Linked DNA regions of Homo sapiens: region 2 is linked to region 1. The links are contacts of gene promoters, found by promoter capture Hi-C in human tissues and cell types (Jung and others, 2019). All regions are on one chromosome and are shown on one strand. The core of a region is centred on a gene start or on the middle of the fragment in contact, and the rest is flanking DNA. Distances in the headings are between cores, read along the strand shown. Region 1 holds the start of ARL11 (ARF like GTPase 11). Region 2 overlaps CDADC1 (cytidine and dCMP deaminase domain containing 1).

Region 1 (5,754 bases), core at 1,480-3,979:
ATGGGGTGTTGTGATGTTGCTCTCCAACTCCTGGGCTCAAGGGATTCCCCCACCGTGGTCTCCCACAGTGCTGGGATTACAGGCATGAGCCACCGGGCCAAGCCAGCATTTCTTGTTTGATAGACTAAGCGTAAATTTCTCAAGGATCAGCTGGTTCTTCTAGTTTGTATGAGCAAAGATATGCTGCTCTGTCTGGATCAAGATCTCTTGCTGTCTCCGCGCTCAGCCCCATGGGCTCTCGCCTGCAGACACATGCAGCTGCGAGATTTCAGGAGGCTCCACAGGCTCTGCAGGGCCTCGGGCAGCCCCTCCCCAGTGAGGGCACTGCAGCCCCGGAGCTCCCAGCAGTGGTCCTGGAATCTCTCTAGACTCAGCCTGTTTCTGATCTTAAGCAGCGGAAGTGCATCAGGTGCCTCCTGCTTGTTGGCCAGCACCAAGAAGGGGACGCCAGCCATGTTGGGGTCGTTCAGGACTTCTGTGAGCTCAGCCGCCGACTCGGGTAAGCGGGCTTCATCTGTGCTGTCCAGCACGTACACGAGGATATCTGTGCCTTCCAGATAGTCCTTCCAGCTGGCTCTGAGCGGGGCCTGCCCCCCAACGTCCCAGAGAGTCAGTGACACGTGCCCAGGAGCTTTCAGAGGCTCCACGTTGAAACCAACAGTGGGCAGGGTCTCCACCAGCTGGTGGCCCTTCAGCTTGTAAAGGAGCGTGGTCTTGCCCGCCGAGTCCAGGCCCATCATCACCACCTGGGCTTCCGCCTTGTGACCTCTGGAATTCACAGAACCCATGGTGGCCACTGCTGAATCCTAGGGGAGAAAGGCCAGGGCACACATCAGCTACTGTCTTCTGAAGGAAGACAAATCCATCCTGGTGCAGTGGCTCACACCTGTAATCCCAGCACTGTGGGAGGCCAAGGCAGGAGGATCACTTGAGCCCAGGAGTTTCAAACAAGCCGAGGCAACAAAGCAAGGACCCGCCTTCTCTACAAAAATTGAAATTAAAAATGGAGCACAAATCTGTGCAGGCAAACAACGGAAGAGTTTTTCCAAAACAGGAAAAGTCTTCACAGGGTCAGATTTTAAACAGATGCCTGGGCTTTGAAGGAAGTGAGGATGTGTGAGTCACCATCAGCTAACCTGTCTCTGGGTCAGATAAGAGTGGTCCCTGAGCAGAGAAGATCAGGGGCCTCCTGGAAGACATTCCTGAGGAGTTAAAGCAAAGAGGCAAAATGAAGTTCCAGTCAGACAGAGCTGGTTCAGTAGAAATTACAGAACGATGTCTTCAATTCTTGCTGGTCTGTGGCTTCTAACCTCTTCTCCTCCTATAAGCCTAAATGCTGAAATGGAAGCTAAGCTGGGTTCCATGCACAGAGTGAGAAGGATGGTTCAGCTCACGGTGACCTCTCTTTAGAGCTTCCCAAGGACCAGTACTATGTCTTGGAAACACAGTGAGGTGTCACTTAATGACGGGGACACATTCTGAGAAATGCTTCATTAGGCAATTTCATCATTTTACAAAATCATAGATTGTAATTACACAAACGTGGATGGTCTAGTCTACTCCACACCTAGGCTATATGGTATGGCCCATTGCTCCTGGGCTACACACCGGTACAGCATTCCTGTAATGGGTACTGTAGGCTATTGTAACACAGTGCTAAGTATTCGTGTATCTAAACATAGAAAAGGTAGTGGTTGCACCACAACACTAAGCTGAAAAATAGGAATTTTTCAGCTCTGTTATAATCTTATGGGACCACCGTTGTATATGTGGTCTGTCGTTGACTGAAATGTCTTCATGCAGTGCCTGACTGGGGCTATTTATAAATACTGTTTACTGGGGGCAAATTTATGAGTCAGAGCAAAGCAGTTTCCTCCACTGTCTTACCAAGGTCAATGACTTCTACAACACTCCACATGTGCTTTTTTGTTTGTTTTTGGGTTTTTTTGTTTTGTTTTGTTTTGTTTTGTTTTGAGACAGGGTCTCACTCTGTCGCCCAGGCTGGACTGCAGTGGCATGATCACAGCTCACTGCAGCCTCGACTTCCCAGGCTCAAGCCATCCTCCCACCTCAGCCTCCCCAGTAGCTGGGACTATGGGCATGTGCCATCACACATTTTTGTTGTTGTTTTGAGACAGGGTCTCACTGTGTCACCCAGACTGGAGTGCAGTGGTGCAATCTTGGCTCATCACAACCTCTGCCTCCCTGCAACCTCCGCCTCCTAGGTTCAAGGGATTCTCCTGCCTCAGCCTCCCGAGTACCTGGGATTACAGCTACTACTACCACCCAGCTACTTTTTGTATTTATATTAGAGACGAGGTTTCACCATGTTGGCCTGGCTGGTATTGAACTCCTGACCTCAAATTATCCACCTGCCCGGCCTCCCAAAGTGCTGGGATTACAGGCGTGAGCCACTGTGCCCAGCCACATATGTTTTTAAAGAATCCCAAATTTTAAGACATAAGACCTGTTCCCAACTTAGACGATGCCTGCGTGGAACAGAGAAGAGACATCTCAACTTCCGGGAATGGGGGTGGGGGGATATGAGCTGCCTCTGGAAGGAGGTAAGCCTCTACTCATCCCTACTCCCAAGGGTAGAAAAGTAAAAAGTTAAAATTACCTCTGTGTTACTATTAGACTGCAGCTGTGAGATCCTGCGTGGCTCTCCTCCCCTATGGAGCTGCTTTCTGCTGGCCAGGCATGACCCAAGAGCGAGATGGGAAGGAAGCAGAGCAGCCGTTGCTGCTTCTCCTTTTTGTGCTTCCTTTTCCCAGGTGGCTGGGGGGCGGGGCTGGTGTCACGGCCCCTCCCTCAGCCCTAGGGCGCCTCAGAGCAGTCATCTTGCTGGGCTTGCCACAGAGAGGTCCCCGGCTCTGCAGGTCCTGGCAGAGCAAGGCCCAGTGACAGCTCCATTTTTTAGCAACTCAGACTTGGGTGCCTGAAGGAGGGAGCACGAGCTCGGAGCTGTGTCCAAGCGCAGCCGCCTTCTCTCTTCCCTCAGGATCCTCTGAGCTCCTCGCAGAGAATTCTGACCTCTTCCTTTCAGTACATGCCTCAAGGTTTTTCTGGTGGCTAGAGATTCTCTGATTTGCTTGGAATCACACATGGTTTGTTGTTGTTGTTGTTGTTGTTTTGTTTTGTTTTCTATTTGAGACCGAGTCTTGCTCTGTCGCCCAGGCTGGACAGCAGCCTCCGCCTCCAGGGCTCAAGCGATCCTCCCTCCTCAACCTCCTAAGCAAGTGGGATTATAGGCAGGTGCCACCATGCCCAGCTGATTTTTGTATTTTTCATAAAGACAGGTTTCACCATGATGGCCAGGCTGCACATGTGTTCTTTTAAAAGCTGCCTATGGCCAGGCGTGGTGGCTCAGGCCTGTAATCCCAACATTTTGGGGGGCTGAGGTGGGTGGATCACGAGGTCAGGAGTTCGAGACCAGCCTGGCTAACATGGTGAAACCCCGTCTCTACTAAAAATACAAAAATTAGCTGGGCGTGGTGGCACCTACCTGTAGGCCCAGCTATTTGGGAGGCTGAGGCAGGAGAATGGCATGAACCCGGGAGGCGGAGGTTGCAGTGAGCCCAGATCACACCACTGCACTCCAGCCTTGGTGACAGAGCGAGACTCTGCCTCAAAACAAAAACAAAAACAAAAAACAAAAAAAGCTGTCTACATATGATGAAAACATTCTTTAAAAGGTATGTATGATGCAGATCAACCTTTAAAATTGTGTTAATGTAGTGATTAAAGTTACCGTTCAATTTTTTCTTGAATGGTGTCACTGTGTTTTTCCCAGTAAAAATGACACCTCTAGAAAATGTAATTTTTAAAAAATTGGCTAGTCGCCGGGCATGGGGGCTCATGCCTGTAATCCCAGCACTTTGGGAGGCCAAGGCAGGAGGATCGCTCAAGCTCAGGAGTTCAAGACCAGCCTGGCCAATATGGTGAAACCACGTCTCTACAAAAAATAATAAATTAACCAGGCATGGTGATGTGTGCCTGTAGTTCCAGGTACTTGGGAGATTGAGGCCCAAGAACTGCATGAGCCCAGGAGGTGGAGGCTGCAGTGAGCTGAGATCACAGCACTGCACTCCAGCCTAGAAGACAGAGTGAGACTCTGTCTCTCTCCTATTTTTTTTTTTTAATTGAGATGGAGTCTCGCTCTGGCGCCCAGGCTGGAGTGCAATGGCACAATCTCGGCTCACTGCAACCTCCGCCTCCTAGGTTCAAGCAATTCTCCCACCTCAGCCTCCCGAGTACCTGGGATTACAGGCACGTGCTACCATGCCTGGATAATTTTTTTATTTTCAGTAGAGACAGGGTTTTGCCATGTTGGCCAGGCTGGTCTCCAGCTTCTAATCTCGAGTGATCTGCCCGCCTCGGCCTCCCAAAGAGCTGGGATTACAGGTGTGAGCCACTGCACCCAGCCGAGACTCTGTCTCAAAAAAAAAAAGAAAAAAAGAAAAAAAATTGACTAGTCAGAAACCACTGATTCAGTAGGTATTGAATTTGGATATGGAGTCACAGTGATTTAGCTCTTATAACCAGTAATCTTTGTGCTGTTTTCTGCTTTCCCATGCATTATTTCATTAAAATATCAAGACTCAAGTTGGATGTTATGACTCTTCCATTTTACAAGAAAAGAAGCAGGCTCGGTTGGAAGGCCGAGGCGGGCAGATCACAAGGTCAAGAAATCGAGACCATCCTGGCCAACATGGTGAAACCCCATCTCTACTAAAAATACAAAAATTAGCTGGGCATGGTGGCGCACACTTGTAGTCCCAGCTACTCGGGTGGCTGAGGCAGGAGAATCGCTTGAACCCGGAAGGCGGAGGTTGCAGTGAGCTGAGATCGCGCCACTGCACTCCAGCCTGGTGACAGAGCAAGACTCTGTCTCAAAAAAAAAAAAAAAGAAGCAGGCTGGGACAGGGTGAATCATTGACTCATGATCTTGCTGCGTTTTATAATTCATCTCTTTCTCTTTTACCATGTCATGCTACTCACACAGAAAGTGCCTTGTAAATGGCAAACACCAGATTGTTGTTGTCATTGTTTTTGTTAAGCTACTGTATTTTAGCAGGAAGAACTGATTAGGAAAAGTCAGAAACTCAAAGTGTGTTATGTGCACCACTGTGTGAGGGTATTGATGCTGCTCTTGGTTTGCTCTTTTCAGTGCCTGTGGTCAGTGATCATCCTTTTTCAAGGCCAGGGGGTGTGTGGGGAGGAGACAGAAACAGATAGAGTGCTCCTGGGGGTGGAATTATCCCAGGGAAGTCTCAGAGCAATAAAGAATCGTCTGGTGGAGGGCTTGTCATTCTCGCCCAAACTGCAGCGGGATCGGCTCACGCTGGGACTAAGTCCTGTCCGGGCCCAGCTGCTGAGTCAGCAGGAATCCTGCAAGGGCCCGATTTGCAGGAAGATTGGGGCCGGACGAGGATGACAGCAGGCCAAGGTTGAGGGGCTCCTGGGGGTGGGGGAGCTGGGGTGCTGCTCTGACCCAGTTCCCAGAGCAGCACCAGGGCTAGGTTTGGGCCCCATGGAGGCAGGGAGGGAGCAGAAGCTGTAGAAGCATTAGCACAGTGGCTTGGAGGCACCATGCCAGGCTGCCTGGGTGACCTATGCCCTGGGTGACACAGAGAGAGAAGGGACACTCCCCTTGGCCTCTAGCCTGGAGCTTGGGGCCACATGGCCAGGCTGCAGGCTGCCTCTGGAGGTAGCTGCGTGGCACTGACCACAGAATCTGAGACAGGCACCGCC
Region 2 (5,754 bases), core at 1,631-4,130, 380 kb after region 1:
CTTGAAGTAGAAAGAAAGTTTTGAGGCAGGGACCAAAGTCCTTCATTTATTAGTTCAACAAATACTTATTGAACCCTTGCTACATGACAGCCTAGTTGCTCAAGATGCAGCTCTCACAGGGCTTATGATTTATGAAAACAGGAAAGTGACTATGAAGTAAGTTGATTAAGACAAAGAAAGTGACACAGAATTCTGTGAGCTCCAAAATAGGTGAGATAGCCAGGTGCAGTGGCTCACACCTGTAATCCCAGCACTTTGGGAGGCTAAGGCGGACAGATCACGAGGTCAAGAGTTCGAGACCAGCCTGGCCAACATAGTGAAACCCTGTCTCTACTAAAAATACAAAAATTAGCTGGGCATGGTGGTGCGCACCTGTAGTCCCAGCTACTCGGGAGGCTGAGGCAGGAGAATTGCTTGAACCCGGGAGATGGAGGTTGCAGTGAGCCGAGATCACGCCACTGCACTCCAGCCTGGGCAACACAGCAAGACTCTGTTTCAAAAAAAAAAAAAAAAGGGTGGGATAGTTAATACATTGATAAAGTTTTAAAGTAGGAATGGGAAACTTTGTAAATGTTGACCTGCTAGTCTTATGAAACAAGTGCTGGATGCTAGAAAAGAAAGAACCATCAAAAAGAAGTTTATAAGAAAACCCATGTTCTGGGAATGAGGTTTCTGTTCAGACAGAACAGGAAGTAGAGGAAGTGATGGTATCAGTGGAAAAACGGTAAGGATGTGGGTGCTAGTAGTGGTAATAATTATATATATGAGTGATGATAATAACAGTACCTAACATCTACTGCATGTTTATCATGTACCAGGCCCTAAATTATCTCATTTAATCCTTATAACTTTATAAAGTAGCTCCTATTATTCCCATTGTACAAATGAGGAAATTGTGGCTGAGAGAGATTAAATAATTCAACCATGGTCACACAGGTAATTAAGTGGATATGCCAGATCCAGCCCAAGATCCATTGTCTTAACCATTATGCCACATTGCTTCTGTTCTGGAAAAGTACAGTGAGGGCCTTTAGCATAAGGTACCAGAAGACACAATGGAAAGAGTTAGGAGGCTAGGTGCGGTGGCTCATGCCTGTAATCCTACCACTTCGGGAGGCTGAGGCGGGTGGACTGCTTGAGCCCAGGAGTTAGCGACCAGTCTGGGCAACATGGCAAGACCACATCTCTATTAAAATAAATACATAAACAAATAAATAAATAAGGAGACAACAACAACAACAACAAACACATAGTACCTAACATGTGCCAGGCACTAAGACCTTTACAAATATTAACTCATTCATTTCTCATAAAAGCCTCATGTAGTATATACTAGTAACATTTCATTTTACAGATGAGGAAGCTGACACAGAGAGGTAGAGTTACCCAAAGTTATACAACTAGTAAGAGGCGGAGCCAGAGTCTGAACCCAGGCAGGCTGGCTGTAAAACCACTGGCTACTCTAAATTACTAGACTAAGGTGCTGCTCCAATGTTTATACTAGCATTACAGCATAAGTATTTTCTTATGTTAAGTGAAAAGGGTAGGATCCAGAGTTAAATGATCTCATGTAAGTAAAGAAAGTAAGAGAAAAAAGACTGAGAAACAATTTTTAAAAAGTAATTAGTCTCTAGGAGGTGGAATTATGATAAAATTTTTCTTCTGTCCATTTTAAAAATAACAAACATATATTACTTTGGTAACTCATAAAAATACTTTTAGTAAGACAAATGTTGGTAAAGTATCAAAAGCAGTATTTCCAATACAATTACATGTCTAATTGCATCTTGGTATTTCTGTGATTTACTCTGTACAACAAAAGCAGACTAAAGAATTTAAGTGAAACAATCTTATTACTTTAGCTTAAAGAAGACTTTTTTTCTCTTAATTGGAAAAAGTTTGTACTCAACTCTAAGAATACCATGTGCAAATAATACTGGAAAAAATATACTATAGTAAATGGTAAAGAAATATTAGGCACAAAATTGGGCAACATTTTGAGAAATTTAATATTTCCACAAGTATAAACACAATGGCAGCATATACTACATGCATATGAAATTTAGATGTATTCTTACTGTATAATTTAAAATTAATAACTTATCAACCCTGTAACAGTACCAAAACTGTCAAATACAAAATTGTGTTCCTGCTATGACTGCAACTACCTGCAAAATTATGTGGATATTAACTAGTACAAAAAGGAAATCCAAGAGAAAAAAATAGTTTTTAAAAATGTTGCAGCTATAAATTCAGTTTCAATGATAATGTTTGTACAATAAATAACACTATAAAAGTGGAGTACAATATGCTCCCTTTCATTCTGTATTCTTCCCCCACACTATCATTGGTCTTGCTTTTTTGCAATGGCCATGATATCAGAAGAACTAATGAAATTATATACTTCTGCTTTATTGACATTAAATATACAAGTAATTGACAACCTACAATCATGTTCTAAATACTTGGTAAATCTCCCTTTTCGGAATTTAAAACACATTTTTCTCATATAAACAATGTTAAAAATGATAGTCAAGTTCCCAAGTTAACATGCAAAAGCCTCTTTCACCCAGATCACTGCCAGAGTAATCCTGAGGCTCTCCCTCCCCAAGTGCCTTGGAGTCCCAAGCCCTGTAGGTAAGAACAGAAGTAAAGGCCTACCCAAGACCATGGTGAGAGGGTTGTAGTCCTAGGACACATGGGTATGGGAGCACAGCTGGAAAGACACCAATGCAGTGAATAGGAGCTGGGCATGCTCCAGGACCAGGAGCTAAGAGTGATAACCTTTCATATAGCCAAGTCAATCCTAGTTCCAGGTTGCCTGGCTTTCTGAAGACATGGATGTTCTTTGTTTTGATGCCTTCTGTACTCATTTCTATGTGTTATAACTTTCCATTTAAAAGCCTTAAATAGACATGCGTATGAGTCAGATTTCTAAATAAGATCCCAAATAAAATATCTGAAACAAAAGACTTATTTATTTTCATTTAGAAAACTTCCATGGTGCCCACCAGATGAAGGAATGAGATGCCAGGAAAACTTAAGAGTTGTTGGCTTGGGAGAAAATGAGAGTCATAACCTTGATCTTTTGTTAAACATGATATAAAGTTGTATAAAATTTTGTTGCTAATATAGTTTTGAAATTTCCTTGGTAGTATTTTTTTTAACAAAATGCTAACTGAAAGCTTCATCTCAGTTTTCTCAGATCCACAGCTTTCTCTATATAGTATGAGGAAACAGTAGGGTGTGTATTATTTGCAAATAAACTTCAACAATTAGTTGGCCAATCAATTCCTTCCTAATAGAAACATAAATGTCATTTCTCACTAATTAAATACAACTTGTGCCTGTTGAAAAAAAAAACTTAATTTCAGCACAGGATGTGGTGTGTATATAAAAAAACAGAACTAAAACGAGATCACATCTGGATATTTACAAAAAAAAGAACGCCTTTTCAAAATTTGTATTCAATCTCTAATATGTCCAGTTTTTATACGTTTTTTTTTCTTTTTTTTTTCTTTTTTTTTCTGTCGCCAGGCTGGAGTGCAGTGGCGTGATCTCAGCTCAATGCAATCTCTGCCTCCTGGGTTCAAGTGTTTCTCCTGCCTCAGCCTCCTAAGTAGCTGGGACTACAGGCACGCACCACCACGCCCAGCTACTTTTTGTATTTTTGGCAGAGACGGGGTTTCACCATGTTGGCCAAGATGGTCTCGATCTCTTGACCTTGTGATCTGCCTGCCTCGGCCTCCCAAAGTGCTGGGATTACAGGCATGAGCCACTGCACCCGGCCTAAAAGTCTTAAACCTCTAAATATTTGTTTCTAATCTGGCTCTTCAAAATAAATTTTATCTGAAAACAAAACAAAACAAAACAAAAAAAACACAACACTACATAAAATCCCTAACAGCTTGGAAATCTACTTTCATAAAATAATACTAAACTATTAACAAGTAGAAGGAATAAAGGAATTTCAAAATTAATGAAGGAAATGAAGAGCTTTCTCAGCCGTTAATAACATGTAGAGCCAGAGTGGGGGGATGAGGGTGAGAAATATGGAATAACGATGTATAATATTTTAAATAATGTTTTACTATCTATAAAACACTTCACATAGGAATTGGGGGAGGAAACTACACCAAGAGATATCATTTTATTATGAGAAGCGAATATCCTCACATCCTGTTAAAATTCCTCAATGCAATTCCTATATTGATAAGATAAAATCTAAACTCCTTTGCAAGGCATACAATGCTTTTTATGATATGATTCCTGTCTACATTGTCAAGCTCCTTTCCAGTCTCTTCCCTCTACCTAACTTCACTTTCTGGCCTGAGGACCACAAATTCTCTCATTGCTCCAAGCTTTTCCATGTAGAGTTCCTTGGCTTGGGCAAAAGTCCACTAATCCTTCATGTCTCAGTGCAAATACGACCTTCTCTGTGAATCCTTCCTTCACTTCCCCATATAGAGCCTGGCTCCCAGTCTTGCCAACATCTCTGCTTATACTATGTACTCACTCCACCAATTCTGTTTTAATTGTTTAAATGCCTAGTGTTTCTACTCATTAGAAAATAAAGACCATGTTTTTTCTGCTTTGTGTCTCCAGTGCCAAGCACAAAACCTCATCCACAGTAAAATGAAAAGAGTAGGTGGTCTCCTAAGAGTACTGTGGGAATTTAAGGATTTATAGTCTTTCTCTGGAAAATCTAAAGCAACCTTTCAGCAGAATTATGGGCAAGTTGGAAACCTCAGCGAGTACATGCAGAATATAACTACAACTTTGTAAGAGTAAAAATAAAAAACCTCATGCTTAAGATTGGAAGCACCAAAATATTAACAGTAATGTTGTTAGAGTGGTGAGAAGCCATGTGTAATTTTCTGCCCCACCCCCCTCATTTTACCTCTGTTTTAAAAAAAGTCTTAAATGCTCAACTTAACCTAATACTATTTTCCAATGGCCGTGGCCCCCTATAAAAATTAATGCCAACACCCTAAGCTTCCAAAATTATCAAACAGAAATGATGAGAACCTAGCATCATGCCATTCCAAGCATGGAGGAAAATGAGAACCTAGCCCCTTGTTGCCCCAAGGGTAGGAGAAAGAAAAGACGCAGGATGTTTATACTTCCAATTCCAATATATTGGCTTTTATGATTATTCTTACTATACATTTCTGATTTTTTTTTTGAGATGGAGTCTTGCTCTGTCACCCAGGCTGGAGTGCAGTGGTGCAATCTCAGCTCACTGTAACCTCCAACGATTCGTTCAAGCGATTCTCATGCCTCAGCCTCCCGCGTAACTGGGACTACAGGCGGATACCACCACTCCTGGCTAATTTTTGTATGTTTAATAGAGATGGGGTTTCACTATGTTGCCCAGGCTGGTTTTGAACTCCTGACCTCAGGTGATCCACCCACCTCAGCCTCACAAAGTGCTAGGATTACAGGCGTGAGCCACTGCACACAGCCCATTTCTAATCTGTTTTGATCCTGTCTTTCAAGATCCAAAAAGAGACTACTTCCATCCAACATTAATCAATTAGCACTCATATAATGCTAGACTCTAAAGGGTATATGCTAGGTAAAATAAGACATGGTCTCTATCTCCAGGCAATTTATATATTTCTGTGGCAGAGGAGTAAACTACCTAGATAAAACACCAACAGTATATATAATTGGGGGAAATTATGTGGTATAGACAATAATCTTATTAGCCGAACTGACATATGAATACCATTAGTACCCGATAAACATGGT

Evidence for each region. Contacts are between HindIII fragments. The study calls those that stand out against the background at their distance.
Region 2: a fragment that was not itself captured here is called in contact with the fragment with the promoter of ARL11 in region 1 in 1 of the 25 tissues and cell types used here (lymphoblastoid cells).

What each region holds. Positions count from the first base shown.
Region 1 is chr13:49,625,482-49,631,235 of GRCh38, reverse strand. ARL11 (ARF like GTPase 11) reads right to left here and starts at 2,729. Exons shown (of 2, transcript NM_138450.6): 1 at 2,621-2,729; 2 at 1-806. The coding sequence starts at 788. The coding sequence ends at 198. RefSeq lists an enhancer at 2,428-2,477. The HindIII fragment of the contact is 10,720 bases long and covers 1-5,754 here.
Region 2 is chr13:49,249,164-49,254,917 of GRCh38, reverse strand. All of the region lies in intron 2 of CDADC1 (cytidine and dCMP deaminase domain containing 1), which reads right to left. Among named protein-coding and RNA genes, the nearest start is that of CDADC1, 4.1 kb to the right of the region's middle. The HindIII fragment of the contact is 5,612 bases long and covers 75-5,686 here.